7 separate regions of the Homo sapiens genome follow, and all the other regions are linked to region 7. Evidence: promoter capture Hi-C in human tissues and cell types (Jung and others, 2019). All regions are on one chromosome and are shown on one strand. Each heading gives the region's core, a stretch centred on a gene start or on the middle of the fragment in contact. The rest is flanking DNA. Distances are from core to core; before and after follow the strand shown.

Region 1 (3,092 bases), core at 464-2,963, 300 kb before region 7:
AAAGCCACTGGGAAGACTTATTTTTATTTATTTATTTATTTATTTATTTATTTATATTTTTGAGACGGAGTCTCGCTCTGTCTCCCAGGCTGGAGTGCAGTGGCACAATCTCGGCTCACTGCAAGCTCCACCTCCCGGGTTCACTCCATTCTTCTACCTCAGCCTCCCGAGTACCTGGGACTACAGGTGCACGCTGCCACGCCCGTAAGTTTTTGTATTTTTAGTAGAGATGGGGTTTCACCATGGTAGCCAGGATGGTCTCGATCTCCTGACCTCGTGATCCGCCCGCCTCGGCCTCCCAAAGTGCTGGGATTACAGGCGTGAGCCACCGCGCCCGGCCACCACTGGGAAGACTTATAATAAAAGGTTACAGTTCCTTGCCACATCCTCCCCACCCCAGCCCCACCTCCAGTCTATCTTCCCAGGGACAATCTATTTATTTGCTTTTTTTTTTTTTTTTTTTAAAGTTGTGTGTGTGTCTGTATTTTAATATTGATCCGGGGTCTCACTATGTTGCCCAGGCTCGTCTTGAGCTCCTGAGCTCAAGCAATCTGCTGCCTCAGCCTCCCAAAGTGCTGGGATTTACAGGCATGAGCCACTGAGCCCGGCCTTATTTGCATTATTTTTAGGCATGGAAAAGACGTAAACGGTTTGGGGAAAGCATATTTTAAATAGCTAAGATTCTGCACTTAGATCACTTTGGAAGTGTCCTTATGTGCCTGCTTTGCTTTTAGAGTTAACTAATGCACCAGCTTAATAGTCGCCTGGTTGAAAATTCTAAAAGTACAAAAAATTTACAGTAAAAAGTCTTCCCCTAACTCCTGTCCCCAGTGACACAGTTCCTCTCCCTGGGGACCTTCCTTGTTACCAGTTCTTGTTATCATTCTACAGGTGTCCTGTTTTACTGTTTCATTTTTAATTATTGTCATGGTTTCCTCCATGTCTCTCTATAAATTGTGCTTATGATGTTGTTATCGCTTCATATATCAACTCTAGCCTATCTATCTTCCTGCTGTGACCTTGATATGGCGACTTACTCCTTAAGTCCTTCTGAACTGCATCAATTTTTTTCAACCACTGATCAGTATTATTTTTTGAAAAATTAAAAATGGTTAAACTCGTTAAAGGGAGTTTATGTAACATCAAACAAACCAATAAACAAAACTTACTCTACGAGAATGGAGTACTAATATTTGGATTAAACCAGAGTTTTCATGTTAATTTAGAGAAATTCACAGCCTGATGCCCAGACACTACACTCCGGGCGTGGGCATACACGCCTTGCCTGTCCGGGAACGGCCGTCAACGCCCTTTTAAAAAAGACAGCGCCCACCCAGGACCCCGCCCCCTGGTGGTTAAAGATGTAAACTAAGCCTCGTACTGCAACCTCCCCTTAAAGGGGAAACCCATTTCTGTCGTCTAAAAAGGGAGCAGTGGCTGCACCGCCTTTCCTTAAGGTAAAACTCGGCGCCCCTCTAGTTAAAAGGGTAAAGTACGCGCTGGGCCCCACCTCACCTGCGCGGTTACTTTGTACTCGGTGTAGCCCTTGGGGTGAGTCCTGGGGTCCGACACTGTGTAGTGCCGCAGGAAGTCATCCTTCGCCTGGCGGGACATGAAACCGAGCTGGAGCGGAGCGGAGCGCCGGCCTCCACCTCCTCGCCGTCCCCACCCCTCCGGCCCAGCCTCCGCCCGCCGCCGCCTCGCCAGGCCTGCGCTCTTCTTCCTCTGGCCTAGGGATTTTGTCGCAAGTGACAGCGCTGTTCCGATCCCGGGTGCGCGGCCAAGGGAGCGTCTGAAAAGTTCCTTCTCTGTGGTGAAGCGTAAACCCAGGTCACTGGAAAGATTGGTTGGGAAGGCTGGGATCACTCGTCTCATTTCTGCCGGGTGATCAAGCCCACCCTATCCAAGCGTAAACCCTTGTCACAGACTTCCAAACGACTTCTCCCCGCTTCCTAAATCCCTGCTTTCGTTCATCCACCCAACTCTTATTGTGTCCAGTATGTACAGGACAACGTCAAATTATTTCCCTGTCTCCCTCCACAGGATTCCCTAATTCATGTTTTCTGGAAAGTAGAGGAAGCAAAGAAGGTTGGAGAAGCAGGATGGTGTCATGGGCTCTGAGTCACGACTCTTACTAGCTGTAGGAGTTTCCCTTAACTACTCAGCCTCAGTTTCTCATCTGTAGAATGGAGATGTTTATAATAGAATCTGTGTAGGGCAGTGGAGCTTTTTTGCGATGGGTTTGCTGCCAGAACACAGGTGTCGTGAAAACCACCGTTAAATCAAAGCCAAAATGGGGGTTTGGCGCGGTGGTTCACGCCTGTAATCCCAGCATTTTGGGCAGTGGAGGCAGGTGGATCACTTGAGGTCAGGAGTTCAAGACCAGCCTGGCCAACATGGTGAAACCCCGTTTCTACTAAAAATACAAAAATTAGCTGGGCGTGGTGGCGCACGCCTGTAATTCCAGCTACTCCAGGGGCTGAGCTGGCTGATGGCTTCAGCCCAGGAGGTTGAGGCTGCAGTGAGCTGCAATCACACCACTGCACTCCAGCCTGGGCAACAGAGTGAGACTCCATCTCAAAAGAAAGGGAGCAGGGGAGGGAAAAGACTCAGCTCAACATCATCATCTGATTTGGGCAAGTCCAGCACTACTGGCCATCTGATCTACAAGTGTGGTGGGATCCACAAAAGAACCATCGACAATTTTGAGGAAGCTGCTGAGATGGGAAAGGGCTCCTTCAAGCATACCTGGGTCTTGGGTAAGCTGAAAGTTGAACGTGAGAGTGGTATCACCACTGATACCTCCCTGCTGGCAATTGAGACCAGCAAGTACTATGTGACCATCCTCAATGGCCCAGGATGCAGAGACTTTATCAAAAACCTGACCTCAGGCTAATTGTGCTGTCCTGATTGTTGCTGCTGGTGTTGATGAATTTGAAGCTGGTAATTCCAAGAATGGGCAGACGCGTGAGCACACCCTTCTGTCTTACACGCTGGGTGTGAAACTAATTGTTGGTGTTAACAAAATGGATCCCAATGAGCCACCCTAAAGAGGAGAGATGGGGGCCGGGCGTGGTGGCTCACGCCTGTAA
Region 2 (3,004 bases), core at 338-2,837, 420 kb after region 7:
CCCTGCCACACGGGTTGCCCAACCTCGGGCCTAGGGCCAGGCTTCCAAGCCCAGCAAGTGGGGAAGAAGGGGGGCAGAGTCCAAGGAAGGACTGCCCAGGAACACTGCCCCCTCCTAGCTGTTGCCATGGAAACAGAGTCTTCAGGGCCAGTAACTGACAGCAGGTCTCCCCCTTGGGAACCTGGGGGAGGCTTAGAAAGCCCCTACTCCCACCCAGGCCAGGGAGCAGGGTAACCGTAGCCCCCAGGCAACCTTCAACCCCACCTGGAATCCCTAGCCAGGAGCAGGATACTTCCCAGTTTTCTCCAGATGTTGGGGGGACCTCTGAGACCCTGCCCTCATCTGGGTATTCTGCATTGGAGAGCAGACCCAAGGCCAGTGGACGTGCTCACACCGAGTTCACACACTCCACTCACCGGGGTGCTCAGGAGCCCCACAAGCCCACGCAGGCTCGCTCTCTGCTGAGGGCTTTCACACTTGCACCGGCCTTCCCAAACCCGTGCTCACTCCTGCTCACACTTGTGCTCACACACTTCTCCTGGAGCGCACACCCCATCCACGAACTCAGTCAAGGCTCATGATCACACACACTCTCACTAGGTCTCCCCACATCCACACGCACAGGCACGGACTCATGAAAACACCTCCAGAGCTTTTCACACCTGACACGCGGCTGCCCTCCTGCCCCAGCATGCCGGTCCCAGGCACACGGCGGGCGCCGCTCCACCTCCTCGCGACCAGCCTGCAGGTCCACTCTTATACTCCCGCTGTCGCAGAGGCCGCCACCTCCCGGGGCGCCGCGTCCCGCCCCCAACCTGCGCACACCTTTGGGAAGTTGCCTAAAGTTGCTACGCCTCCCCCTCCCCGCCCGCGGGAGACCTCTACCAGGTTATCAGGAAGTAAGTGGGGAGAGCCAAGGAGGAGGAAGTTCTCCCCTGCCGGTGCGATGACCTTTGACCCAGAGAGGAGGGTGGCCCCAGGCCCCTTCGAGCGCCCCCACGTGGTCTTCAGAGCCCCTTCCCAGACATAGAGCCCTCCCCGTCTTCCACCCCGGCCAGCCCCAGGGACTTCGGCAAATGCGGGATTGAACCCTGCCCCGGAGCGGGCTGGATCGGAGGCCCAACCCTGACCCGAGTCAGGACCCGCAGCCAGAGCCAGATCCTGCCCCAGGCCGGCCCACCAGGACTCGGACGCCGGATCCCGCCTGAACCCTGACCAGTCCGACCCTCGACTGGGTCCCAACCGTGGCCCGGACTGGCCCCAGAGTCGGACCCCGCCTGCAGCCCGCCCCGCCCGCCTCCCTGCCGCGCTCGCACATGGCCCCCGCGCCCCGCCCGCCCACCCCCGCGGCAGCGCTCCCCTCCGCCCCCGGACCTGGGGCTCCGGCAGCGCGGTCGGGCAGGCATGGGGGCCGAGCGGCCCGGAGTGCCGGAGTGAGCCGGGGGCCGCGGGCGGCCCCTCCTCCGCCGCCTCCTCGGGCCGCGCCGCCCCACCGCGCCGCGTCCCCTCACTCGGCGGCGCCGCCGGCTGCTTGTAGGACACAAAAGGACATCGCGGCCGCTTCCTACTCCGCTTCCTCCAGCTGACAGCGGGGGTGGGGCCGGCCGTGCGCATGCAAAGCAGGGGGCGGGGCCCGGGGTCCTATGCTAATCAGACCAGCGGGGCGGGCGGCGCCTGCGCGCCCGGACGAGTCGGGGCGGAGCCGGCAGCGCCAGTGGGCGGGCCTTCGTGCAGGTCCCGCCCCGCAGCCCGCCGAGCCACTGCGGCGCACATGCGTACGCGGCCCCTGGGAGGGGCGGGGCCGGAGACGCGGAGGGCGGGGACAATAGAGCCGAGAGCAAGTGGGGCCAGAAGCGCTCTTTCGTAACGGAGGAGGCGGGGCTTGCTGCGCGCGAGAGGAGTGGGCGAGGCGGTGCAGGCTGCAGTCGCGGAGCCAAGAGACCACTTACAGATGAAAACGCAAGGGCGGGACGAGCGGAGAGGCTGGACCTGCTACCTATGCTTGAGGGGCGGAGCCTAGCGCGCCGTCGCGAGGAGGGAGGTGCTGCCCCGTTCCCCCTACCCCCTTCCCCCAAAGCGACACCAACTGAGCACTCGAACCGTAGACCCAGTAGCCCCACAGAGCTGCGGAACTCGGGGTGGGTGAAGCCGACTTAAAACATGCAATAAGTCCTGGATTGCGAGTCCCGGAAGGTAGGGCCGATAGGGCCCGGACGGAGAAAGCTCAAGGTCACTGCGGTGACCGAATGAAGGTCACTGCGGTGACCGAATGAAGGTCACGGGGAAGGGCGGGGCCACGTGCGTCCGCCTCACGCGGGCTGTCCTGCACTGACTCACGGACCATGCATCGACTCTTTTATTTCTTTAGGACTCAAATTCCACTCGGATGGGGTCAGGCTTGGGTCTGGGGACCGGGCTGGCACGGGGCTGGTTCGGGTCGCTGCTCGAGCCCAAGGTGGCGTTTTTAATTCACGTACAGCCTCTTGCTCCGGCGCTTCTTGAGCCCTTCGATGTATCGCTGCAGCTCCTTAGTCAGGAAGTGGTCCCTGCCGATCCCTAACTGGTAGCCTAGGAGGAGGGCAGAGCTCGGCTCAGGGCAGTGAGCAACCGAAAGGTCTCCCCACCAGGGGGCGCCGCATGTGTGATTCGAGGAACCGCAGATGATTCGAGGTAGCAGTAGCGCAGGGCACTCAGGTCTGTGTTAGCCTGGGGAACTTTGCATCTCTAAGGGTGCTGAGTGTTAAGGTGGAGGATGGATGAGGTCAAGGCTAGGGAAGAGGTTGCAGGCCTGAACTAGGGCGGTGGTAGCGAGCAGTTTGCCCACCTTCTGGACCAGCCACCCACTCTAAGCCATCAGCTGGCCCTTTATCACCGCTGGGCTTTCCTACCACAGCAGCAAAAGTTCACCCACATAATCCACTGTCCAAAGGCTCCTCACAACTCCCCAACCAGAGGCAGTCGAGGCCACACCAAGGCGGTCATCCCACTGTGCAGGTGGAGAAAC
Region 3 (2,798 bases), core at 190-2,689, 400 kb after region 7:
TTCTTTTGGTGAGAAGTCACTGAGATTAAAGATCTGTCTTAGGGTCGGGCATAGTGTCTCATGCTTGTAATCCCAGCACTTTGGGAGGCCAAGGCAGGAGGATCACTTGAGCAGAGGAGTTTGAGACCAGACCAGGCAACACAGAGAGACTTTGTCTCTACCAAAAAAAATCAAAAATTATCTGAGCATGGTGGTTCATGCCTGTAGTCCCAGTTACTAGGGAGACTGAGGCAGGAAGATCACTTGAACCCAGGAGGTAGAGGCTGGTGGTGAGCCGAGATCGTGCCACTGCACTCCAGCCTGGGTGACAGAAGGAGACCCTGTCTCAAAAAAAAAAAAAAAAAAAAAAGGCCGGGAGGCCTTTGGGAGGCCAAGGCGGGCGGATCACGAGGTCAGGAGATCGAGACCATCCTGGCTAACACGGTGAAACCCCGTCTCTACTAAAAATACAAAAAATTAGCCGGGCATGGTGGCGGGCGCCTGTAGTCCCAGCTACTCAGGAGGCTGAGGCAGGAGAATGGCATGAACCCGGGACGCGGAGCTTGCAGTGAGCCGAGATTGTGCCAGAGCAAGACTCCATCTCAAAAAAAAAAAAAAAAAAGATCCGCCTGTGCCTTAGTGGTGATGGTTGCACAACTCGGTGAATATATTGAAAACAACCGACTTGTACACTTTAAAAAAAAAAAAGAGACAAGGTCTCATTATATTGCCCAGACTGGTCTCAAACTCCTGGACTCAAGTAAGCATCCCCCTTCACCCCCACAAAGTGCTGGGATTACAGGCATGAGCCACCATGTCTAGCCTTTGTACAATTTTACAGGCTGAATTTTATGATATGTGAATTGTATGTCAATTTGGCAAATCTATCTTTGATGAAGCCGAACCATGTGGCTCAGTTCCCGCAGAAACTAATTCAGGAAAGGGACAGGGAACCAGGAAAGAGGGCTGTTGTCCTCAGCAGTGAAACTGACTTGGGGCCCTGAAGGTTAGAGTGATCTGGGCAGGGGCATCCCAGCGGGGAACATTGTCTGGTAGATGCTGAAAGGGAAGAGATTGGAGGACCCACAATTGGGAATCAGGGTGACTTTGGTGACCAAGGTTGCAGGGAATGGGGACAGAGGCTTGGAGAGAAGTCACTGGGGAGATGAGGGGACCACACGTGGATCTGGGCCAGCTTCGTATTAACCATGCCCTTCCATGGCTGACAGGAAAGGCAGGGAAGTGGGCATCTCCTGGGAAGCATGGAACCTCAAAGGTCCCTCTTCTCAGAGGTGATCCCTGTGTGGCCACACTGCTTGCTGTCCACCCAATATCCTTTCTCTCTCTCTCCCTGACTAAAAAAACTCATAATTTTTAATTTAGACACATGGCACCCTGGAATGAAGTTGATACTTCTCAGCTTCCTTTGCAGCTAGTATGACCATGTGACTAAGTTCTGTCCAGTGAGATGTAAGTGGAAGGGATATATGACAGCTTCCAGAAAAAGCTTCTTGACAGACAGCTGGCATGGGCCTTTTATCTTCTGTTCTTCATTTCCTCCTTCCTGCAGGCTGGACGATGAATGTGATGGCTGGAACTCAAGCAGCCACAGTGGATCATAAGGTAAAGACGTGTTTAAAATGGCAGAGCAGCAAGACAGAAGGAATAATCACACAGCTAGCATACTAGCTCAACCTCTCTAGTGCATACCTGTGAGCTAAGCCTTTGTTTTTTTGTTGTTGTTGTGTTGTTTTGTTTTGAGATGGAGTTTTGCTCTTGTTGCCCAGACAATGGCACAATCTCGGCTCACTGCAATCTCCACCTCCCAGGTTCAAGCGATTCTCCTGCCTCAGCCTCCTGAGTAGCTGGGATTACAAGCATGCACCACCACGCCCTGCTAATTTTGTATTTTTAGTAGAGACGGGGTTTCTCCATGTTGGTCAGGCTGGGCTCGAACTCCGGACCTCAGGTGATCCGCTCACCTCTGCCTCCCAAAGTGCTGGGATTACAGGCGTGAGCTACCACGCCTGGCCTTCACTTCTTTACTCCTTCCCAAAACGTGTTAAGTATTATCTGTGTTTCCCACCCTGAGCAGGGCTCCTTACCTGTGTTAAGTAAAAAGACATGATTCCCAACTCCAGGAGTGCGAGTTGATGATACAAATATAATCACATGGCAGGCCAATATGCATGCTCGTTAACACCAAGAATCTGTGCCTTCGCATAGATGTTACCTGAACTTCTCCAGAAGTTATACCCATGCACACTTTGCACTATCTGCTGTCACTTCTCAATGCCTGTGTCACCAAACCCCAACCACGCCCAGTAGAGTGTGTCCCTTTGGGGCCAGCAGCCTCCACTGCCCCTGATCACAGCACCTTCATGGCTGCAGCCCAAGCCTGATCTAGGCCAGGAACACCAGGACCCCTCCAACCTTTTCTTTGTCTCAGAAACCCAGACTTGACTCCCTTAGGGCCTATTGAAAACTCCCCCGATAGGCCAGGCGCGGTGGCTCACACGTATAATCCCAGCACTTTGTGAGGCTGAGGCGGGCAGATCACGAGGCCAGGAGTTCAAGACCAGCCTGGCCAACATAATGAAACCCCATCTCTACTAAAAAATACAAAAAGTAGCCGGGCATGGTGGCACGCGCCTGTAGTCCCAGTTACTCAGGAGGCTGAGGCACAAGAATCGCTTGAACCCGGGAAGCGGAGGTTGTGGTGAGACTCATTCTGTTGCCCAGGTTGGAGTGCAATGGCGTGATCTCGACTCACTGCAACCTCTGCCTCCCAGGTTCAAGTAATTCTCCTGTCTCAGCCT
Region 4 (3,021 bases), core at 428-2,927, 380 kb before region 7:
GGATGGTCTCGAACTCCTGAGCTCAAGCAATCTGCCTGCCTCTGCCTCACAAAGTGTTGGGATTATAGGTATGAGCCATAATCCCACCTGGGCTCTGTTAATTTTCAGTGAAATGTACTGTCAAAGACTGCTTTGTCTTTGCCTAGAGAAAAGAATTAGGAGAGGCTTTTCCCTGTATAATGTTTGAGATCTTTCTAATTTTGACACAAGTAAATGCATTATTACATAATGAAACTCAATGTCTAGGTGAGAGGTTGGCAAACTACAGCCTGCAGGCCAAATCTGGCTCAATGCCTGGTTTTCTTTTTAATTGGGATATAATTGACATACCAATTCAGTGGTTTTTAATATGTTTAATATATTCACAAGGTTGTACAACCAACCTCACTACGTAATTCCAGAACATTTCATCATCCCCTAAAGAAACCCTGTAACCCTTGGCAGTCATTCCTTATTCCCCCACTCCTAGAACTTGGCAACCATTAATCTAGTTTCTGTCTCTATGGATTTGTCTATTCGCTACAGAATACATTTAACAGAAATGGAATCATAGGCATATGAAACATTAGCATGTTTCCAAGGTTAATCTATGTTGTAGCCTGTGTCAGTATGTTATATCTATTTTTATGGCTGAATAATATTCCACTGTGTGGATATTTGTTTATATTCATTCAATTGATGGCCATTTGGATTGCTTCCACCTTGTGGCTATTATAAAAAGTGCTGCTATTGGCCAGGCATGGTGGCTCTTGCCTGTAATCCCAGTACTTTGGGAAGCCGAGGCAAGCGGATCACTTGAGGTCAGGAGTTCAAGACCAGCCTGGCCAACAAGGTGGAATCCCGTCTCTAGTAAATATACAAAAAATAAAAATAAAAAAATTAGGCGGGTGTGATGGTGCACACCTATAATCCCAGCTACTCAGGAGGCTGAGGCAGGAGAATCGCTTGAACTGGGGAGGCGGAGGTTACAGTGAGCCAAGATGGCACCACTGCACTCTAGCCTGGGTGACAGAGCTAGACTCCATCTCAAAAAAAAAAAAAAAAAAAAAAACACTGCTATGAACACTTGTGTACATGTTTTTATGTGAACATGTTTTCAATTCTCTTTGGTATATTCCTAGGAGTAAAATTGCCGATCATATGGTAATCTTGTGTGTGGTTTTGAAGAATGGTCAAACTGTCTTCCACACTGGGTGCAGCATTTTGTGGTTTGGATTTGCATTTCCCTAAGACCTAATGATGCTGAGCATATTTATATGTGCTTTTCGGCCACTTGTATGTTTTCTCTGGAGAAGTGTCTATTCAAATCCTTTGCCCATTTTAAATTAGGGTTATTTGTCTTTTTAGCCCTGAGCTAAAAAACGTTCTTTTTATGTTCTGAACACTAGATTTTTATTAGATAACTAACTTGCAAATATTTTCTCCCATTCTGTGGGCTGTCCTTTTATTATTATTTATTATTATTATTATTTTTGAGACGGAGTCTCGCTCTGTTGCCCAGGCTGGAGTGCAGTGGCGCGATCTCGACTCACTGCAACCTCCGCCTCCTGGGTTCAAGCGATTCTCCTGCCTCAGCCTCCTGAGTAGCTGGGACTACAGATGCCTGCCACCATGCCTGACTAATTTTTGTATTTTTAGTAGAGATGGGGTTTCACCATATTGGCCAGCCTGGTCTCAAATGCCTGACCTCAGATGATCCACCCGTCTCGGCCTCTCAGAGTGCTAAGATTATAGGCATAAGCCACCGCACCTGGCCTTTTTATTTATTTATTTATTTTTTGAGACTAGGTCTTGCTCTGTCACCCAGGCTAGAGTGCAATGGTGAGATTATAGCTCACTGCAATCTCCAGCTCCTGGGCTCATGTGATCCACCCACCTTAGCCTCCCCAAGTAGCTGGGTTTATTCTAACAAGTGTGTGCCACCATACCCAGCTATTTTTTTTTTTCTAGATATCGGGTCTCACTATGTTGCACAGGCTGGTCTCAAACTCCTGGGCTCAAGTGATCCTCCCACCTCAGCCTTCCAAAGTGCAGGGATTACAGGCATGAGCCACTGTGCTCAGCCCCATCCATTCCTGCCAGTGCAGCTGGAGGAATCTATTCAAACCAGAAATCTGAGCACATCACTCATTTGTTTTAGCTCTCTGTGGATAAAAGCCAAATCCCTAATACATTCTGGAAGGTTTCTAGTTAAACTGCACATCTACTATCTGCCTGGCTCTGCCCACATTCTGCTTCCCCTCCTGCTACCATAGATGAGCTCCCGGCCCTTTGCTGAGGCCGATGCCTCCATCCCTGCTCTGTTCCACCCCCCTCCTTCCTGAGGACCTAGTTCCTTTCTCATTTTTCTCTCTCTCTTGCCCAATCAACACACACTCCATGCTACATTACTTTCCTGAGTGTCTCGCCCAAGTCTATCAAATCTATGTCTTGAAACACCTTCCTCACGCAACCTCCACCTCCTGGGTTCAAGCAATTCTCCTGCCTCAGCCTCATGAGTAGCTTGGACTACAGGCATGCACCACCTTGCCCAGCTAATTTTTGTATTTTTAGTAGAGACAGGGTTTCACCATGTTGGCCAGGCTGGTCTTGAACTCCTAGCCTCAAGTGATCCACCCACCTCAGCCTCCCAAAGTGCTGGGATCACGGGTGAGAACCCCATGCCCGGCCCCTCACTTAAGCTTCTAAGACATCAATGCTCCTGGTTATCCTCACACTTTTCCAAACGTTTGTTCCTTTTGTGGGATGTACAAAAAGAGCTAAGTCTCAAAATATTATTATACACATTCCAACAAATGGAAAATGTAATCTTATTAAATTCCTGTGAGAAATATCCCAGCACAGAAACTATGATTTCTTGCCATTTTGATGCTGGTATTAGCTAACAGAAAGGTGCCTACTCATGGAATCTGCTTCAAATCAGATAAAAGAACAATGTGTATAGGTTACCACACCCACCACTGTGACACGAGAGTAAGACATCAGAATGCAACCCCACAGATGCTCCCAGAACATTCCACA
Region 5 (2,796 bases), core at 117-2,616, 480 kb after region 7:
CCCCCGTGGCCGTGGCCACGGCGCTCAGGCAGATGGACAGTACTGTCAGGACCCGGAACCAGCTCAGCCTCATGTCTCTGTGGGCACAGACCCCGACCGACCGACTGAACGTGGGGGAGGGCAGGGAGAGTATGGAACACGGGTAGGTAACAGGAGGGTTCCACCGCCACTGTATCTTCCTTGCCCCGGGGGATCCCCTTTGTCCCGGGTCACCGCCCTCTCCCCCGGGCTCCGGGGCCACACTTACCAGTCCAGTGAGAAGGGGGCTTGGCCGAGGACCCCAGCAGCGGGGGGAGGGGGTCAGGGGAGGCCACAGCAGCCAGGGACCCGCCCCTTTGCTCACCCCCATACCTTCCCTCCCTCCCAGTCCCCACCTCCGCTCTTCAGTTCCCGCCTGTCCCTTTACGCAAAGTCCAGACCCTATCTGGCTGCACTGCAGTTGCCCCGACTGGGCGGCCCCACTCACGCCACACCCAGCTGCCCCCGGTCCAGCACACCAACACCTCTGCGGCCGCTGCAGGGGGCCGGCCCCGAGGCACCCACACATCCCCACTGGGTGGCTCCGAGGAGCCCGGGTCCTCGGGAGATACCCCCCAGCCTGGCCCTGTGCTTCCGCCCGGGGCGCCGCCCCAACTCTGAGCCCTTGGGGGTCTCCGGGGCACCCAGACTGGCCCTGTGTCTGCTGGCCGCCGAGCCCGCTCCACCCACACCACCTCTCCCGGTGGAGTTCTCGGCCTACGGCGTCCCCAAGCCCGGCCACCACGGAGACCACCCCCGCGAGGACGCCCGGGGCCATTACTCGGGCCAGGCTCCTCACTTGGCTCCTTGGCACCGCCCTTCGGAGGACGCGGTACCGCCCCCGGGCCTGCAGCCCCGCCTTCGACAGAACTAGACCCCTTTTCCGGAGCCGTAGCCACGCCACTCACCGGCTGAAGCCCCGCCCCCAGCGCCTCCGCTCCGTCCCCCTCTGCTTCCGACCCCGAGGCTCCGCCTTTCACCTCCTCCAGCTCCTCCTTCAAGAGCCAGGCTCCGTCCCCCGACCCTCCTAGCTCCGCCCCCCGCCGCCGGGCTCCGCCTTCCACTGGCACCAGCTCGGAGGTCCCACCCGTCCCGGTTCCACGTCCCGCCCCGAGTCCCAGGACTCCGCCCCGTGCGGCGTGAGAACCCTCCCCCTGCGGCATCTCCGGACAGCTCCGGCCCCCACCCCCAATTTCCTCGTCACCTAGCTCTCGTTGACACTCGGAGCCCGGTCCGCTTCTGCCCGGCCTGATCCAGCCTGCCCTCTTGCACCCCGGCTCCCCCCAGCCCGGGCTGTGGCCCCCGCTCACCTCCTCGCCGCGCCCCCGGAGTCAACCCCGGTGGTGCTGCCGCCTCTGCGCAGGCGCGTCCTCGTCGCTACCAGGCCGGGCCACGCCGCCCTCCCTTATTGGACCGTGCGAAACCCGCGGCCACACGCCCGCTGGCACGGGTCTTTCCCGAGCCCCGCCCCCGCGACGCCGCTGCCCTGCGTCACTTCCGGCGGAGCGGTAGTCTGTAAGGTTAGGTGAAAGTGACTTCCGAAAAGGCCGGAGACACTTCCGGCCGAGGTGATAGTAAGGTCAGGCGGGCGTGGGTTCCCGGAGGGGGTCTTGAGGCGCCATTTCAAGTCGCCCCCAGCCTCTCCCACAGCACTCCTGTTTTCCCGGGCCTCATCATGGCCCACGGCCCTCAGTCGCTGTGGAGCCTGGGCTTCACAGTGACACTCACGTTTGAACTCCCGGTCGGCTGTGTGCTTGGTAGAATTTGTCATCCAATACAGGCGTGTAACACGGGCTTGATGACACCCACCCCACAGGGCCCCTGCAGGACCGAGATGATGTCCAATGACAAGCCCTGGCTTCCAGCCAATGCTCCTGCCCACATCTCTCTCCCAGGAGCCAGGCTTACCTCTACCTGTGCACCTGGGCTGTGACTCATGACTGGAATGATCTGGCTGGGCCTGTTCCCCCACCAGACTTATTTTCAGGCGCCCCAGCAGCCACCAAACATCTGTCAACTGAAGTAATGAACCTGCAGTTGAGAGGCAGCTAAACCTAGGTTGAAGGTTAGGGAGACAGCTGAGTTGAGGTCAAATCCCCCCGGCCAGTTAGCCTTTCTGAGCCTATTTCCTCAATTGTAAAAGGAAGACAATCATGATGCTGACCTCAGAATCGAGCGAGGAGAAAGTGAGGAGGTGCATGTGAAGCATTGTGCGTGACTGGTGGGGCTAACTGGGCTCTGGAGGCGGTAGCTCTGGGGCCCTAACCCCTTTCTGCCTCATGCTAATTGACCTATGGCATGTCCAGTGACATCATGACTGAGAAAATGATTTGAAAGTAGTAATCGCTGTCAGGAATTGTCTCCTGGTTCAACCCACTCCTGCCTTAGGCCCACTAAGATCATACCCACATGCTCTGACCCAACACCTCAGAGAAAGCCTCCATTAGGGTGGCTGCCCCTCCCAGTGGCTGCCCAATTGAGTTAACTCTGCCCCTGAATGTCCTGCTTCAGCAGGCAAAGCAGTGGTGCCCAAGGTTGGCCTTTCATCCACCCCAAACCACTCAGCCCTGGGCACTGGAGGCTGCAGGGAGAAGGGTAGGGGCTGGGCTTGGGCTAGGATAGACAAGTCAGGAGAATCTCAGGCAGCAACTGATGATGAAGGAAGCTGCAGGATGCAAGGGAGGCGAGGGTGGAGAAAACTGTGTGGGTTGGGCGGGCGCGGTGGCTCACGCCTCTAATCTCAGCACTTTGGGAGGCTGAGGCAGGTGGTTCACCCAA
Region 6 (2,810 bases), core at 20-2,519, 400 kb before region 7:
TAGTCTATACCCATTCCCGAATAAATATCCTTTTCTTTTAGAGTCTGTTATTTAGGTTGACATAAGATAGCACCAGTCTTTGGTTTTCCATGGTGCAGGGTACAGATGGGATGGAAAGGAGGCTCAGGTACTCTGAATGGTCTGCCTCTCAGGATTTCTGTGGGATGCAAAAGAGTATATGTACACTTCTGAAAAGTCAATCAAGCCTTTAGAAACTTAAGGCTTAACTTTCTGTCTCGGTTTTAGAAATAGATATTATTATATTGGCAGCGTGGCCTTGTTTGTACCTCCATGATTGCCTGGCTGGCCTTGCTAACCTAATCACATCTGTGACGGGATATAGTGATGTTTAATCTTATGATTGCCTTAAGAATTAAGGCAATCAGACGGGTTCGGCGGCTCATGCCTGTAATCCCAGCACTTTGGGAGGCCGAGGCGGGCGGATCACGAGGTCAGAAGATCCAGTCCATCCTGGCTAACAAGGTGAAACCCCGTCTCTACTAAAAATACAAAAAATTAGCCGGGCATGGTGGCGGGAGCCTGTAGTCCCAGCTACTCGGGAGGCTGAGGCAGGAGGATGGCGTGAATCTGGGAGGCGGAGCTTGCAGTGGGCCGAGATCGCGCCACTGCCCTCCAGCCTGGGCGACAGAGCGAGACTCCGTCTCAAAAAAAAAAAAAAAAAGAATTAAGGCAATCATAATTCCCCACGCACACTCATATGCTAGGACCCCGCCCCTTACCTGAAACGTTGTGGCTTATATAGACACTGCCAGGCACTGTGTTAAGTGCTCCCAAAGAGCACCCCAGTCTACCATTTTCCCTCTCGATTCTATATGTACACTCGGGACAAGTTCTCCTGATCGAAAACGGCAAAACTAAGGCCCCAAGTAGGAATGCCTTAGTTTTCGGGGTTAACAATGATTAACACTGAGCCTCACACCCACGCGATGCCCTCAGCTCCTCGCTCAGCGCTCTCACCAACAGCCGTAGCCCGCAGCCCCGCTGGACACCGGTTCTCCATCCCCGCAGCGTAGCCCGGAACATGGTAGCTGCCATCTTTACCTGCTACGCCAGCCTTCTGTGCGCGCAACTGTCTGGTCCCGCCCCGTCCTGCGCGAGCTGCCTGCCCAGGCAGGTTCGCCGGTGCGAGCGTAAAGGGGCGGAGCTAGGACTGCCTTGGGCGGTACAAATAGCAGGGAACCGCGCGGTCGCTCAGCAGTGACGTGACACGCAGCCCACGGTCTGTACTGACGCGCCCTCGCTTCTTCCTCTTTCTCGACTCCATCTTCGCGGTAGCTGGGACCGCCGTTCAGGTAAGAATGGGGCCTTGGCTGGATCCGAAGGGCTTGTAGCAGGTTGGCTGCGGGGTCAGAAGGCGCGGGGGGAACCGAAGAACGGGGCCTGCTCCGTGGCCCTGCTCCAGTCCCTATCCGAACTCCTTGGGAGGCCTGGCCTTCCCCACGTGAGCCGCCGCGACCACCATCCCGTCGCGATCGTTTCTGGACCGCTTTCCACTCCCAAATCTCCTTTATCCCAGAGCATTTCTTGGCTTCTCTTACAAGCCGTCTTTTCTTTACTCAGTCGCCAATATGCAGCTCTTTGTCCGCGCCCAGGAGCTACACACCTTCGAGGTGACCGGCCAGGAAACGGTCGCCCAGATCAAGGTAAGGCTGCTTGGTGCGCCCTGGGTTCCATTTTCTTGTGCTCTTCACTCTCGCGGCCCGAGGGAACGCTTACGAGCCTTATCTTTCCCTGTAGGCTCATGTAGCCTCACTGGAGGGCATTGCCCCGGAAGATCAAGTCGTGCTCCTGGCAGGCGCGCCCCTGGAGGATGAGGCCACTCTGGGCCAGTGCGGGGTGGAGGCCCTGACTACCCTGGAAGTAGCAGGCCGCATGCTTGGAGGTGAGTGAGAGAGGAATGTTCTTTGAAGTACCGGTAAGCGTCTAGTGAGTGTGGGGTGCATAGTCCTGACAGCTGAGTGTCACACCTATGGTAATAGAGTACTTCTCACTGTCTTCAGTTCAGAGTGATTCTTCCTGTTTACATCCCTCATGTTGAACACAGACGTCCATGGGAGACTGAGCCAGAGTGTAGTTGTATTTCAGTCACATCACGAGATCCTAGTCTGGTTATCAGCTTCCACACTAAAATTAGGTCAGACCAGGGCCCCCAAAGTGCTCTATAAAATTAGAAGCTGGAAGATCCTGAAATGAAACTTAAGATTTCAAGGTCAAATATCTGCAACTTTGTTCTCATTACCTATTGGGCGCAGCTTCTCTTTAAAGGCTTGAATTGAGAAAAGAGGGGTTCTGCTGGGTGGCACCTTCTTGCTCTTACCTGCTGGTGCCTTCCTTTCCCACTACAGGTAAAGTCCATGGTTCCCTGGCCCGTGCTGGAAAAGTGAGAGGTCAGACTCCTAAGGTGAGTGAGAGTATTAGTGGTCATGGTGTTAGGACTTTTTTTCCTTTCACAGCTAAACCAAGTCCCTGGGCTCTTACTCGGTTTGCCTTCTCCCTCCCTGGAGATGAGCCTGAGGGAAGGGATGCTAGGTGTGGAAGACAGGAACCAGGGCCTGATTAACCTTCCCTTCTCCAGGTGGCCAAACAGGAGAAGAAGAAGAAGAAGACAGGTCGGGCTAAGCGGCGGATGCAGTACAACCGGCGCTTTGTCAACGTTGTGCCCACCTTTGGCAAGAAGAAGGGCCCCAATGCCAACTCTTAAGTCTTTTGTAATTCTGGCTTTCTCTAATAAAAAAGCCACTTAGTTCAGTCATCGCATTGTTTCATCTTTACTTGCAAGGCCTCAGGGA
Region 7 (2,825 bases), core at 319-2,818:
AAAAACTCCTTGCAGCCTGGGTCCCCCTCTTACCCCTTCACAGGCTGGGGAAGGAGTTTCCCACCCGGGGGGTTGGTGTCCGCATTAAGCCACTCAGTAATTGACCACTCTCTTTGAAGTGCCTGGGCAGGGGTCCAGGATGACTGTGGGCAGGTCCCCTGGGTGCAGCTGTTCTGGGCATGCATTAATTGCCTGGTGTAGGTACCTGTGTGCACAAGTGTGTGTGTTCTTGGGCAGTATATGCTTCCTGTGGGTGTGTTACCATGGTGGGGCATTTCTGCAGGTGTTCTTATGTGTCTCTGGGAATGCCCAGTGTTCACAGATATGTGTGCATGGCTGTGAGTGCCCCAATGTCCATGCATTGGTGGTTGAATGTAAGTGTTCTTGCATGTTGCCTCTGGCTAAGGAAGTGCCAACTACCACCAGCTGTGCAGATCACAGACCCTGCAACAGAAACCAGGGTCCTGGAGTGAGCTGGCAGAATGGTCTGGCACACATACACACACACACTCTGTCTCTCACTGTCTCATTCAGCAGCCCAGTGACCAACCTCGGGGTATACACACTAAGTGCCAGTGTGTGTACACTTTTATTGGCGGAGTGAGTGAAGGGTGTCCCCCAGTCCCCCACACTCATACACATGCACAGTGATGCATGTACCCTTACAGGAGAGACCTGCGCCCCCCAGCACCACTCTAACTGAAACTCATGGATGGGAGGAGGAGAACAGAGAAGGGGGCTGCTGCCAGGTGCCCTCAGTCACCAGGCATGTGCAGGCGCAACCCTGCCCCCACACCTACTCGTACCTCGGTCCAGGGTTCCAGGCAGAACTGAGAGTTTGGCCTCAAACTCTGGGATTCCCATGAGGCAGGACTGGGAAACCCCCAAGTTCCTAGGTCTACCCCGCCCCCATCTCTGCCTTTCCTTCCCCCACCGCCTCCGTCTTTATCCCAGCAAAGCCCCTTCCTCTTCAGTTCTGGGGGCTCCAAGCCAGGGGCCCTCCGGACGGTGGGAGGTGGGGGCCAGGCTACCGACTGGAAAAAGCCCCCAGCAGCCATGGACCCACCGAGTCCCCCTTCTCTAGGCTCCTCGAAGCCCGGGCCCGCCCCTGGGGGTAGCCAGCAGAGGGCGCTGCGGCCCAGGCCCCGCATCAGCCCTGCTCTCGCGGCGTCCCAAGTCGGGGTCCACAGCCTCTCCTTCGGCTTGTCCCAGCCCCGCGCTGCGCGAAGACCTGCTGGCCGTGGGGGGAGGGTGCGGGACCCAAGGCCCCGAACTAAGGGGCGAGGGGCGAGGGGCGAGAGTGCTTGGGTTCCCGGAAAAGACACTGAGGCCGGGTTTGGGGCCCGCCTGGTTGGGGGCCCGGGCGCCCGAGAACCTCGAGAGGCTGGGAGGAGCGCGGGTGCTGGGGCCGGGACGCCTGGGTCCCGCGCGAGGGAGGGAGTGGGCCTGTGGAGCCGCTGGACTGGCGGCTTCTGAGCCCTTGCATTGGCTGCGCTGCTCGCCCGTCAGCGCAGCGTGGTCCAATGCGCGCGTCTCGGGGGCGGGCACTGGTGCTGATGCTGCCGTCAGTCGGTGTTGCAGGGATGCGGCGGCGGGAGCAGCCGCCCTGACTCGCGGAGCATCCTCCTCGGAGAGGCACCGCGGCGGGGCGGGCGGGCGGGCGGGGACGCGGCGGGGAGGGAGAGAGGCGCGAGGCGGCAGACACCGCTAGCCCTGGCTCTGCCACCCGTCGGAGACGGGGCGGCCCTGTAGCTCTGCTACCCACCCTCCAGCTTCTGGCGCCCCGAGAACCAGGTAAAATGGGGGGGGGGGGGCGCTGCGGCGGAGACGGGCGGGGGGCGGGAGCCGATCGGGGGAGGGGAGCGGATCGGAGGGGGCGAGGGAGGCAGGACGGATGAATTGGGGGGCGGGGGCGCCGCGCTGAGAGGGCTGGCCCGGTGACAGCGAGGAGGCAAAGCCGCTGGGGGCTTGGGGGTCGGAGGCTCCTGTGGAAGGGGCACTGGCCCTGAGAGCTGAGGAGAATGGGGAGGGGTGGGAGGAAGGGTCTTTGGGGGAAGGGATGGAGAGAGGAGGGGCATCCAGAGGACTTAGAGGGGGTTCTTAAAGGGGGGTCCCCAGTCTGTGCTAGCCCCAGAGGCTTGAAGCAGCGCCGGGCCAGAGGAGCTGTTGTGTTCTGGAGGGTCTAACCAGCGAGAAACTGGGCTTCGTGGGAGGAGAGGAGAGGGGGCTGGAGAAGAGAGAGAAGTGGAGAGGGAAGGAAAGGGGCCAGGCCAAGGGCTTCGTCCTGAGGGGACCCACTGAGGACCAGGCTTTCCTGGGGGATGGGAGCCAAGGGGAGAAGAGGTTATTGGGAGAGAGCAGAGGGGAATGTGCCAAGGTGCTCCAGGCAGAGATGGGTCTGTGCTGGTGGAGAGCTGGGAAAGATGGGGTCTGAGGGAGAGGAGCGGAAGCTTGCGGGGGAAGGCTGGGGGTGATGAGACAGGGAGACTGGGAAATCAGTAGGAGGGGGCTTTGCTGGGGTGGGAATGCGCTGGGGGCGGTGACAGGGTTCTGGTCAGAGAGTGCTGCAGGGGGAGAGGAAGCTGCAGGGCCCTTGGCTTGCTCCCCCACCCCTAAAGAGGAAGGGACCATTTCTCATGTCCCAGCCTCCTCCCCCAGCTGAAGCAGCAATCTTCCCTGGGGTCTTTGGGTTGGGGTATGAGCCCTTGAACCCTTGATGGGCTTTTGGGGCACAATTGGCTTTGGGGTGCTGTTGTCTCCTTTACTCTCACCCCCCTCCTGAATCTTGGGAGAGGGCATTCGATGCCTCATTGAGCTAGCAAGGG

What was found. The method cuts DNA at HindIII sites, captures the fragments that hold promoters and counts their contacts. A contact is called where the count stands out against the background at its distance.
Region 1: the fragment with the promoter of SNX15 here is called in contact with the fragment with the promoter of NRXN2 in region 7 in 2 of the 25 tissues and cell types used here (adrenal gland and spleen).
Region 2: a contact is called between the fragment with the promoter of ESRRA here and the fragment with the promoter of NRXN2 in region 7, in 1 of the 25 tissues and cell types used here (dorsolateral prefrontal cortex).
Region 3: a contact is called between a fragment that was not itself captured here and the fragment with the promoter of NRXN2 in region 7, in 5 of the 25 tissues and cell types used here (dorsolateral prefrontal cortex, lymphoblastoid cells, mesendoderm cells and 2 more).
Region 4: a contact is called between a fragment that was not itself captured here and the fragment with the promoter of NRXN2 in region 7, in 3 of the 25 tissues and cell types used here (dorsolateral prefrontal cortex, hippocampus and spleen).
Region 5: a contact is called between the fragment with the promoter of FKBP2 here and the fragment with the promoter of NRXN2 in region 7, in 1 of the 25 tissues and cell types used here (spleen).
Region 6: the fragment with the promoter of FAU here is called in contact with the fragment with the promoter of NRXN2 in region 7 in 1 of the 25 tissues and cell types used here (spleen).

The regions. Positions count from the first base shown.
Region 1 is chr11:65,026,060-65,029,151 of GRCh38, reverse strand. It overlaps SNX15 (sorting nexin 15), which reads right to left and starts at 1,713. Exons shown (of 8, transcript NM_013306.5): 1 at 1,516-1,713. The coding sequence starts at 1,614. ARL2-SNX15 (ARL2-SNX15 readthrough (NMD candidate)) reads right to left here. Exons shown (of 11, transcript NR_037650.2): 4 at 1,516-1,834. It also overlaps the pseudogene EEF1A1P18. RefSeq lists a silencer at 1,582-1,751 and an enhancer at 1,601-1,895. The HindIII fragment of the contact is 29,710 bases long and covers 1-3,092 here.
Region 2 is chr11:64,304,107-64,307,110 of GRCh38, reverse strand. It overlaps ESRRA (estrogen related receptor alpha), which reads right to left and starts at 1,587. Exons shown (of 7, transcript NM_004451.5): 1 at 1,375-1,587. CATSPERZ (catsper channel auxiliary subunit zeta) reads right to left here. Exons shown (of 5, transcript NM_001039496.2): 5 at 2,341-2,568. The coding sequence ends at 2,465. KCNK4-CATSPERZ (KCNK4-CATSPERZ readthrough (NMD candidate)) reads right to left here. Exons shown (of 11, transcript NR_133662.1): 11 at 2,342-2,568. RefSeq lists an enhancer at 891-960 and a silencer at 1,371-1,880. The HindIII fragment of the contact is 12,153 bases long and covers 1-3,004 here.
Region 3 is chr11:64,326,288-64,329,085 of GRCh38, reverse strand. LOC102723878 (a long non-coding RNA gene) reads left to right here. Exons shown (of 4, transcript NR_188518.1): 3 at 1,550-1,602. Among named protein-coding and RNA genes, the nearest start is that of PRDX5, 9.6 kb to the right of the region's middle. The HindIII fragment of the contact is 7,757 bases long and covers 1-2,798 here.
Region 4 is chr11:65,098,556-65,101,576 of GRCh38, reverse strand. All of the region lies in intron 2 of VPS51 (VPS51 subunit of GARP complex), which reads right to left. Among named protein-coding and RNA genes, the nearest start is that of VPS51, 3.9 kb to the right of the region's middle. The HindIII fragment of the contact is 4,540 bases long and covers 1-3,021 here.
Region 5 is chr11:64,239,665-64,242,460 of GRCh38, reverse strand. It overlaps FKBP2 (FKBP prolyl isomerase 2), which reads right to left and starts at 1,366. Exons shown (of 6, transcript NM_004470.4): 1 at 1,329-1,366; 2 at 1-77. The coding sequence starts at 73. It overlaps LOC114841035, which reads right to left and starts at 1,366. Exons shown (of 6, transcript NM_001370414.1): 1 at 248-1,366; 2 at 1-77. The coding sequence starts at 1,181. The coding sequence ends at 384. RefSeq lists silencers at 168-407, 438-1,457 and enhancers at 556-1,456, 1,738-1,857, 1,898-1,957, 1,457-2,359. The HindIII fragment of the contact is 16,951 bases long and covers 1-2,152 here.
Region 6 is chr11:65,120,593-65,123,402 of GRCh38, reverse strand. It overlaps FAU (FAU ubiquitin like and ribosomal protein S30 fusion), which reads left to right and starts at 1,269. Exons shown (of 5, transcript NM_001997.5): 1 at 1,269-1,313; 2 at 1,582-1,664; 3 at 1,759-1,903; 4 at 2,367-2,422; 5 at 2,597-2,773. The coding sequence starts at 1,590. The coding sequence ends at 2,722. MRPL49 (mitochondrial ribosomal protein L49) reads right to left here and starts at 1,082. Exons shown (of 4, transcript NM_004927.4): 1 at 979-1,082. The coding sequence starts at 1,056. RefSeq lists enhancers at 792-1,061, 1,222-1,311. The HindIII fragment of the contact is 8,684 bases long and covers 1-1,697 here.
Region 7 is chr11:64,721,940-64,724,764 of GRCh38, reverse strand. It overlaps NRXN2 (neurexin 2), which reads left to right and starts at 1,568. Exons shown (of 23, transcript NM_015080.4): 1 at 1,568-1,794. RefSeq lists an enhancer at 678-727 and silencers at 1,108-1,407, 1,394-1,688. The HindIII fragment of the contact is 11,757 bases long and covers 1-2,825 here.